2 separate regions of the Homo sapiens genome follow, and region 1 is linked to region 2. The links are contacts of gene promoters, found by promoter capture Hi-C in blood cells and fetal thymus (Javierre and others, 2016). All regions are on one chromosome and are shown on one strand. Each heading gives the region's core, a stretch centred on a gene start or on the middle of the fragment in contact. The rest is flanking DNA. Distances are from core to core; before and after follow the strand shown. Region 1 has its middle 6.3 kb from the start of SNAR-C1. Region 2 holds the start of CABP5 (calcium binding protein 5).

Region 1 (4,487 bases), core at 1,965-4,464, 81 kb before region 2:
TGAATTGCTTTAGTTTCTGCTAATTGTTCTAAATAAACAGACATAGAATACAAAAATCACAAAATGTCAGAATAAAATTTCTTTTCACAAACATACAACAAAAACTTAGCAATAATTAATGTAGTAACATAGACTGGTTTGGTGTCTTACATGTGTGAAGAACTTGTGAACAGAATTTGATTCCTCAGTTGAATATTGGTTCTAGAATTTGAGGATCATTATTCATTCTGAGCAATCAAAGTTTAACCTAAAATTAAACAGAAAAATATTTAACTTAAAGCTAGTCCCAGAATAGCACAGCTAACATCACACTGAACTGTGAAACCTTTTCCTCTAAGATCAGGAAGAAGACAAGGATGTCCACTTTTGCCACTACTGTTTAACAGAATAGTGGAAGCCCTTGCCAGAGCAATTAGGCAAGAAAAAATAGTAAGAGGCAACCAAACTGGAAAGGAAGAAATAAATTATCTCTGTTCACAGAAAACATGATCTTGTGTATAGGAAACTCTAAAGATTCTACATACAAAATGTGTTAGAACTAATACATGAATTCAGCAAAGTTGCAGGATATGAAATCAACTCATAAAAATCAGTTGCATTTATATACTAACAACGAAGAATCCAAAAAAGAAACAATTCCATTTATAATAACACCAAAACCTCCCAAAGCTTAGGAATAAATTTAACCAAGGAGGTAAAAGACTTGAAGTTAAATAAGATATAAATAAATTAAAAGACATTCCGTGTTCATGGACTGGAAGATTTAATACTATTAAGATGTCAGTATGGACCCAAAGCAATCTACCAATTCAATGCAATTCCTACAAAAGTTATAAAGGTTCTTTGCTTTGTTTTGTTTTCGCAGAAATAGACAAATCTATCCTAAAATTCATACGGAATCTCAAGAGACTCAGAATAGCCAAAACAGGCTGGGCATGGTGGCTCATACCATGTAATCCCAGCACTTTGGGAGGCTGAGGCAGGCAGATCACCTGAGGTCAGGAGTTCAAAATCAGTCTAGCCAACACGGTGAAACCCTGTCTCTACCAAAAATACAAAAATTAGCCAGGCATGGTGGCACATGCTTGTAGTCCCAGCTACTTGGGAGGCTGAGGCAGGATAATTGCTTGAATCCAGGAGACAGAGGTTGCAGTGAGCTGAGATGGCGCCACTGCACTCCAGCCTGGGTGACAGAGTAAGACTTTGTCTAAAACAAACAAAAAAATGAATAGGCAAAACAATCTTGAAAAATAAGAACAAAGTTGGAGGCTTCACATTTCCTAATTTCAAAACTTAATACAAAACCACAGTAATTAAAACAGTGCGGCGCTGGCATAAAGACAGCCACATAGACCAATGGAATAGAATACATTGAAATTTTCTAAAGGACAATTTTTTCAATTTCCAACTTTTATGTGGTTTAACATTCGTAAGCAAGTTTGTGTTCTTTGAATCACTGAGAGCTTTTGAGCATGTAGCAATATCCTGCACAAATTTTGCATGAGTGTGTTAAAGACGGGTAAGTATTAAATGTCTCATGCAGCCGGATGCAGTGACTCACACCTATAACCCCAGCACTTTGGGAGGCCAAGGCAGGTGGATGAGTTGAGGTCAGGAGTTCGAGACCAGCCTGGCCAACATGGTGAAACCCCGTCTCTGTTAAGAATACAAAAATTAGCTGGATGTGGTGGTGGGGGCCTGTAATCCCAGGTACTTGGGAGTCTGAGGCAGGGGAATCACTTGAATCCGGGAGGCAGAGGTTGCAGTGAGCCGAGATTGCACCACCGCACTCCAGCTTGGGTGACAGAGCAAGACTCCGACTCAAAAAAAAAAAAAAAAGGTCTCATGGAGGAAGTCAGTTCTGTAGAATGACCCCACTGCAAGATGCTCTTCCAGTGCCAGGAAGTGGATTATGTTCTAGGAGCCATGAAGGAGAGTTTACAGAAGCCCATTCTCCGCTTCATCATCATTGTAACACAATGAAAGCTGATGACATGGCTGCTTGGCTACACTGTGTTTATCAGCTTCTCCTGCATTTAGAATGGGGGCATGTAACTACACACTCTAAGTAGGTGCTTACCCAGGTCCAGAGTCTCCAGGAATAAGATCAATGTAGAAGAGCAGCTACAGAAGGAGTCGGTTGACTTGAATGACATAAAAATAAATCATGGTAATTGCTTAAGCCTCAGCATTTTTTTTGTACTGTCCCATTTAGATAAATGAATAGAGTTTGACAACAGTCTTTCATGTCTTTGTTGGTGCCACCAAGCTCTGAAATTCCCAAGGAACATAATGTTTCTTCACGCGCTCCATTCTCGTAGGAGGCTAACTACGATGACGTGCAATGTGACTTTTCCCTATCTTAATAGCTGGGCCCAAGGGTCTGGGAACCGATGTGAGTCATACGCCTTTCTGAAAATATTTTTTTCAAACTGTATTACTCCTGGGCCCTGCGGAAATCATTGCAGAAAGTATTTGGTATCACACTGAGCTAACAGAGAAGTGAACCTAACTCAGGACTCTGTCTCATGTTCCTATAATCTTCCACTCTAATCACTGGATATCAGTGGTATTCCTAGTCCTTGAAAACTAATCTTTGCTCAAAACCAGTATTCAGTAGGCTCTGGAAAGTTTATGTATTTACCTTTGTAATTTCTTTCTTTCTTTCTTTCTTTCTTTCTTTCTTTCTTTCTTTCTTTCTTTCTTTTTTCTTTCTTTCTTTCTTTTTTCTTTCTTTCTTTCTTTCTTTCTTTTTTTTCTGAGAGACTAGAGTTTCGCTCTAGTCTCTCACGCTGGAGTGCAATGGCGCGATCTCAGTTCACTGCAACCTCCGCCTCCCAGGCTCAAGCGATTCTCCTGCCTCAGCCTCCCGAGTAGCTGGGATTACAGGAATGCGCCACCATGCTCAGCTAATTTTTGTATTTTTAGTAGAGATGGGGTTTCACCATGTTGGCCAGGCTGGTCTCGAACTCCTGACCTCAGGGGATCCACCCCCCTCGGCCTCCCAAAGTGCTGGGATTACAGGCGTGAGCCACCGTGCCTGGTCCCTTTGCATTTTCTTACTGTGTCTGCCTATGGCCTTATAGCAGTGCCTGGTTACCCAGCCTTGCCTTCACTCAAGGGGCATTGAGTTGGTGAACTGTCTTGTGCCTGGAACTGGGAGAAAAGCCATGACTCTAGCGCGATGGTTCCAGTCTGGCTGTTATACTGTGGATCTTCTGTGCAATGAACGTCTTTTTTTTTTTTTTTTTTTTGAGACAGAGTCTTGCTCTGTCACCAGGCTGGAGTGCAGTGGTGCAATCTCAGCTCACTGAAACCGCCCCCTCCCGGGTTCAAGCAATTCCCCTGCCTCAGCCTCCCAAGTTGCTGGGGCTACAGGTGTGTGCCACCATGCCAGGCTAATTTTTTGTATTTTAGTAGAGACGGGGTTTCACCATGTTGGCCAGGATGGTCTCGATCTCATGACCTCGTGATCTGCCCGCCTCGGCCTCCCAAAGTGCTGGGATTACAGGCATGAAGCACTGCACCTGGCCACAATGAATGTCTTTAAGTGAACTGTCAGTTGAATTCATTTCTGAAAAAAACCTATGATTATCACCACCAGATGTCGCTCTTGCACCAGCCATTCTCTATGATCTGATTAGTAATTATACCCTGTTGCCTGGTATCACTTTGCTTCTTAGGGATTAATTGCCACCACCTGGGCTCAATCACACCAGGCTCTGCCTGTCTCCACTGGAACCCTGAAGCTCACTTCAAAAAGCATGGCTTTCTGCTAGCATTCCTAGAGCGGAAAAGCAAGTCAGCCATATTCTTTACAAAAGATTTCCTATGCTTTGTGAAAGATTAAGATGAGATTTATGGGTTCACAAAGACAATGTTTCCGTTTTTTTAACCATAATCTATAGAAAGAATAGACTTTAAAATATGAGCTGACTTCTATCTATCCATCATCTATATCTTTCTATTTAGGCATCCCTATCTATCTATACAATCTCTAAACCTTTTTAGAAATAACTCATGCCATACACATGAAACACTCTGTGTTTTTCCATCCACGTTTGCAGTATTTTTAATTTAAACAATGCTGGTTGTGCTTTGATAAATGGAAGATTATGACTCACCATTTGAAAAGAGCTGGCCTAAGTGTGTGTCTTTCTTTTCTTTTCTTTTCTTTTCTTTTCTTTTCTTTTCTTTTCTTTTCTTTTCTTTTCTTTTCTTTCTTTTTTTGATGGAGTCTCACTCTGTCGCCCAGGCTGGAGTGCAGTGTTGCTATCTCGGCTCGCTGCAGCCTCAGCCTCCCGGATTCAAGCGATCCTCCTGCCTCAGCCTCCTGAGTAGCTGGGATTACAGGCGCCTGCCACCACACCTGGCTAATTTTTGTATTGTTAGTAGAGATGGGGTTTCACCATGCTGGCCGGGCTGGTCTCAAACTCCTGACCTCAGGTGATCCACCCGCCTTGGCCTCCCAGTGTTGGGATTACAGG
Region 2 (3,975 bases), core at 294-2,793:
CCCTCCTTGCGGTCCCTTATCACCCTTTTTTTCATTCTCTCTCTCTTTTTTTTTTTTGAGACACAGTCTCGCTCTGTCACCCAAGCTGGAGTGCAGTGGCACGAACTCGGCTCACTGCAACCTCTGCCTCCCGGGTTCAAGCGATTCTCCTGCCTCAGCCTCCCGAGTAGCTGGGATTACAGGCGCCTGCCACTGCACCCGGCTAATTTTTGTATTTCTAATAGAGACAGGGTTTCACCATCTTGGCCAGGCTGGTCTTGACCTCCTGACCTCGTGATCCACCTGCTTTGGCCTCCCAAAGGGCTGGGATCACAGGCGTGAGCCACTGCCTGGCCTTTTTTATTCTCTTTTTTTGGTGATCTTAAAGCCTAACAATGAAAAGTATGCCCACATATCTGGACAAGTTGGTATATATGGAAAAATAAAAAAATTTTAAAAAGCATGCCCACAGGAATCAAGCAAACCCGACCCTGCCACTTACTTTTTTTTAACGAGACAAAGTCTCACTTTGTTGCCCAGGCTGGAGTGCAGTGGCATAATCAGGGCTCACTGCAGCCTCCACTTCCTGGGCTCAAGCGATCCTCCTGCCTCAGCCACCTGAGTAGCTGGGACTGCAGATGCATGCCACCATGCTGAGCTATTTTTTTGTATTTTTAGTAGAGATGGGGTCTTGTGTTTCCCAGGCTGGTCTCAAACTCCTGGACATAAGTGATCCTCCCGCCTCTGCCTCCCAAGATGCTGCGATTCAGGCATGAGCCACTATACTTGGCCGACCCTGCCACTTACTAACTGTGTAAGCTTAAGGCAAATGACTTCATGACTCAGAGCTTCACTTTCCTCACCTGTAAAATGGGAATGAAAGTCACTGACCTCATGAGTTGTTCTGAGGTGTAAATAACATCAGGTGTGCAAATCCCTTTGCACAGGGCTGGGCACAGAACAATGACTTAATAAGTGGCAGCTATTGTTATTAACGTCATCATTATCATCACCACCACCACCATCATCACCACCATTATCACAATGAGCATCCATAGAAAAGAATGATGGTAATCTCAACAATGACATCATCCCACTTTCCCTTTTCATTTTTCTTCCTTTTCTCTCCTTCTCTTTGCTCCTGACTTTTGATTTTACCCCCACCCATTTATCTCACTGGCTTACATGACCCCACCAGGGTCCTTGGAATTTCTTATACCTTCTCAGCTCCTGCTCTATCCACCTGTTCCCCTGGTTCTGTGGCACCATCATGTCCCCTTCTTTGTCCCACACCCCTGCTCCCTTTGCCCCGCCCACCGCCCTTCCCCCTCACTCCCCACCTCACCCGCTGTTTCTCAGCAATGCCTTTCCTCAAGAAGATGCAGGCGGGGCCCATGGGGAACTGCATGGAGGGGTGGGGTGGAGCTCGCAGGGCACCAGTCTCAAGATGGCCCCTCCTCCCTGCTCCCTGTCGGAGCTCAGCCTCCTTATCTTCTCCAGCACTCCTTTGCCACCTCTTCCTGCCTCTCTTGGCTTCTCCTTCGGTCCCGGTGTCTTAGAGCTGTGACAGCTGGGCTGGAAATCTCTACCCGGGTTGGGGAGGGACCAGAGCTGTCCCTGCCTCCCCATCTGGCTTGAATGATATGGGTGGGGAAATGCAGAGTCAGGTTCTGTGACGCCTTTATCCCCAGAGTGGAATTGGAAAGTGCATTTTATAAATGGGGATTAGAGGCTGGATGTGGTGCTCATGTCTGTAGTCCCAGCGCTTTGGGAGGCTGAGGTGGGAGGATTGCTTGAGCCCAGGAGTTTGAGACCAGCTGAGCAACATACGGAGAGGCTGTCTTTACAAAAAATAAAAAAATTAGCCGTGCATGGTGGCACACACCTGTAGTCCCAGCTGCTCCAAAGGCAGAGATGGGAGGATTGCTTGAGCCCAGGAGTTCAAGGCTGCAGTGAGCTATGATTGTACCATTGCACTCCAGGCTGCAGTGAACTACGATTGCACCATTGTACTCCAGCCTGGCTGACATAGTGAGACCCTGTCTCGAAAAAAAGAAAAAAAAAGAAAAAAAAGAAAAGAAAATGGAGGATTAGAGCAGACGGCATCATTTATTCAATGTTCCAACAAGCATGTGAAGGGTCACTCCAACACTGGCCTCTGGGCAGTGAGATGGAGAGCTCAGCACCCCTGGCCTCAGGGAGTTTTCCTGGGTGAGTCGGGAATGTGTGAGAGTGAGCAGGATGCAAGCATGGACTTCAGGAAGTGGGCGTACACGGTGACTAAGAGCATGGCATTTGCTCTTCCTCTGTTCATCTCTTTCCTTCTGTCTTTCCTGAATGATTTAGAGGGAAAAAGCAAGGTGGGGGTGTCAGGGAGGGTGTGAAGTTATGGTGGTGTCAAAGCCCAAAGGGGTTTTGCGACTCCACACTAGGTAGGGTTAGGGGAGGAGGGGGCTGGGGGCCATCTGGCGTGGAGAGCCAGCATTCCAGTGGGGTAGTGGGGTGAGGAGAAGTCCACATAGAGGGGCAGCATGACCCAGGGTGTTGGGGCTGGAGATGGTGGGGATAAATCCACAGATGGGCAGCTTGGTGTGCAGTGTTGGAACATGAGCTGAGTGGGGCGGGGGCATTTATATGCAGGCATTGTCTGGGGTGGAGGTTTGCACTGTAAGGCAATTAGGAAGGAGGCCACATAGAGGGGATCTGGCATGGGTTGTCATAACCCAAGCAGAGAGAGAAATGTCCACTCATGGGAATAGCATGGTGTATGGTGTTGAAGCCAGACTAGGCTGGGAAAGACATCCCCACAGGGGTGAAATGGCAAAGGAAAAGGGAAATTGGCTACACACAGTGAGTAAGGGGAATGGGGGCCAGGTCTCCTACTGTTGGAAAAGGGAGTTACTAAGACAGAAAGGAGGAAAGTCGAATGAGCCCTGTGGTGTTGGACTATAACTGGAGGCGTTGGTATGTCCTCATGGATCTCAATTATACATAGAGAGATAAAAATAAACACATAGTTTCAGTGTGTATAGGAACATTTGTACACATATTCTCTAGCTCTCTCCACTAAGAGAACATAGAAACAATGATGGCCCATATGAATGAGCACCACTAGCATCCAAATCTTGACTTCTATATACCATTCTCCACCAAATGGAACCAGAGTGCCTAGGAAATTTGGCTGATTCCATGTCTAGAGCAAAAAAAGAACAAGATGAGCCTACAAACGTCCTATGCTTAAAGCAAGAAATTGCTCAAAGTGTTGTGAGAACATGTGGAAAGAACACAGGAGTCTGCTTGAAGAAGCTCCATTGGCCATACTGGGCAGTTTGAGAGTCAAAATAAATAATGATAGTAACAAATTATACAGGACCACAGAAGAAACCAGGAGTCCATACTCAGATAAATAAAAAGCTAAGTGAGAAGTTTGATATTTACAGAGCTCAAAATACCTCCCTACAAAATACCAATTTCAAAGGAGTTACGTTATAGTGGAGAAACGTGGCAAACACCATCTTAGTCAATGAAAGTGGACATCATCAGTAATGTGACAAGTTGGAATTTCACACCACCTGACAGGATGTCACGAGAACAGCATCGCTTCTGTAAGATTCCTGAATCTCATCATAATCAGACGTCAGACGAACCCACATGGAGGGATGGTTTACAAAATAACTGGCCTGTAAGCTTCAAAAATGTCAAGGTCATGAAAATCAAGGAAAGATTGAGGAACCGTTCGAGATTGGAGGAGACTAAGAAGACATGGCCGAGGCTGGGCGCGATGGCTCACACCTGTAATCCCAGCAATTTGGGAGGCTGAGGTGGGCAGATCACCTGAGGTCAGGAGTTCGAGACCAGCCTAACCAACGTGGAGAAACCCCGTCTCTACTAAAAATACAAAAAAATTAGCCCGGCATGGTGGCACATGCCTGTAATCCCTGCTACTCGGGAGGCTGAGGCAGCAGAATCGCTTAAACCCAGGAGGCGGAGGTTGCA

The links. The method cuts DNA at HindIII sites, captures the fragments that hold promoters and counts their contacts. A CHiCAGO score of 5 or more calls a contact.
Region 1: a fragment that was not itself captured here is called in contact with the fragment with the promoter of CABP5 in region 2 in 1 of 17 cell types (M2 macrophages); the score reaches 5.4 in M2 macrophages.

The regions. Positions count from the first base shown.
Region 1 is chr19:47,959,739-47,964,225 of GRCh38, forward strand. No RefSeq gene overlaps it. Among named protein-coding and RNA genes, the nearest start is that of SNAR-C1, 6.3 kb to the left of the region's middle. The HindIII fragment of the contact is 5,095 bases long and covers 668-4,487 here.
Region 2 is chr19:48,042,536-48,046,510 of GRCh38, forward strand. CABP5 (calcium binding protein 5) reads right to left here and starts at 1,544. Exons shown (of 6, transcript NM_019855.5): 1 at 1,325-1,544. The coding sequence starts at 1,387. The HindIII fragment of the contact is 2,868 bases long and covers 797-3,664 here.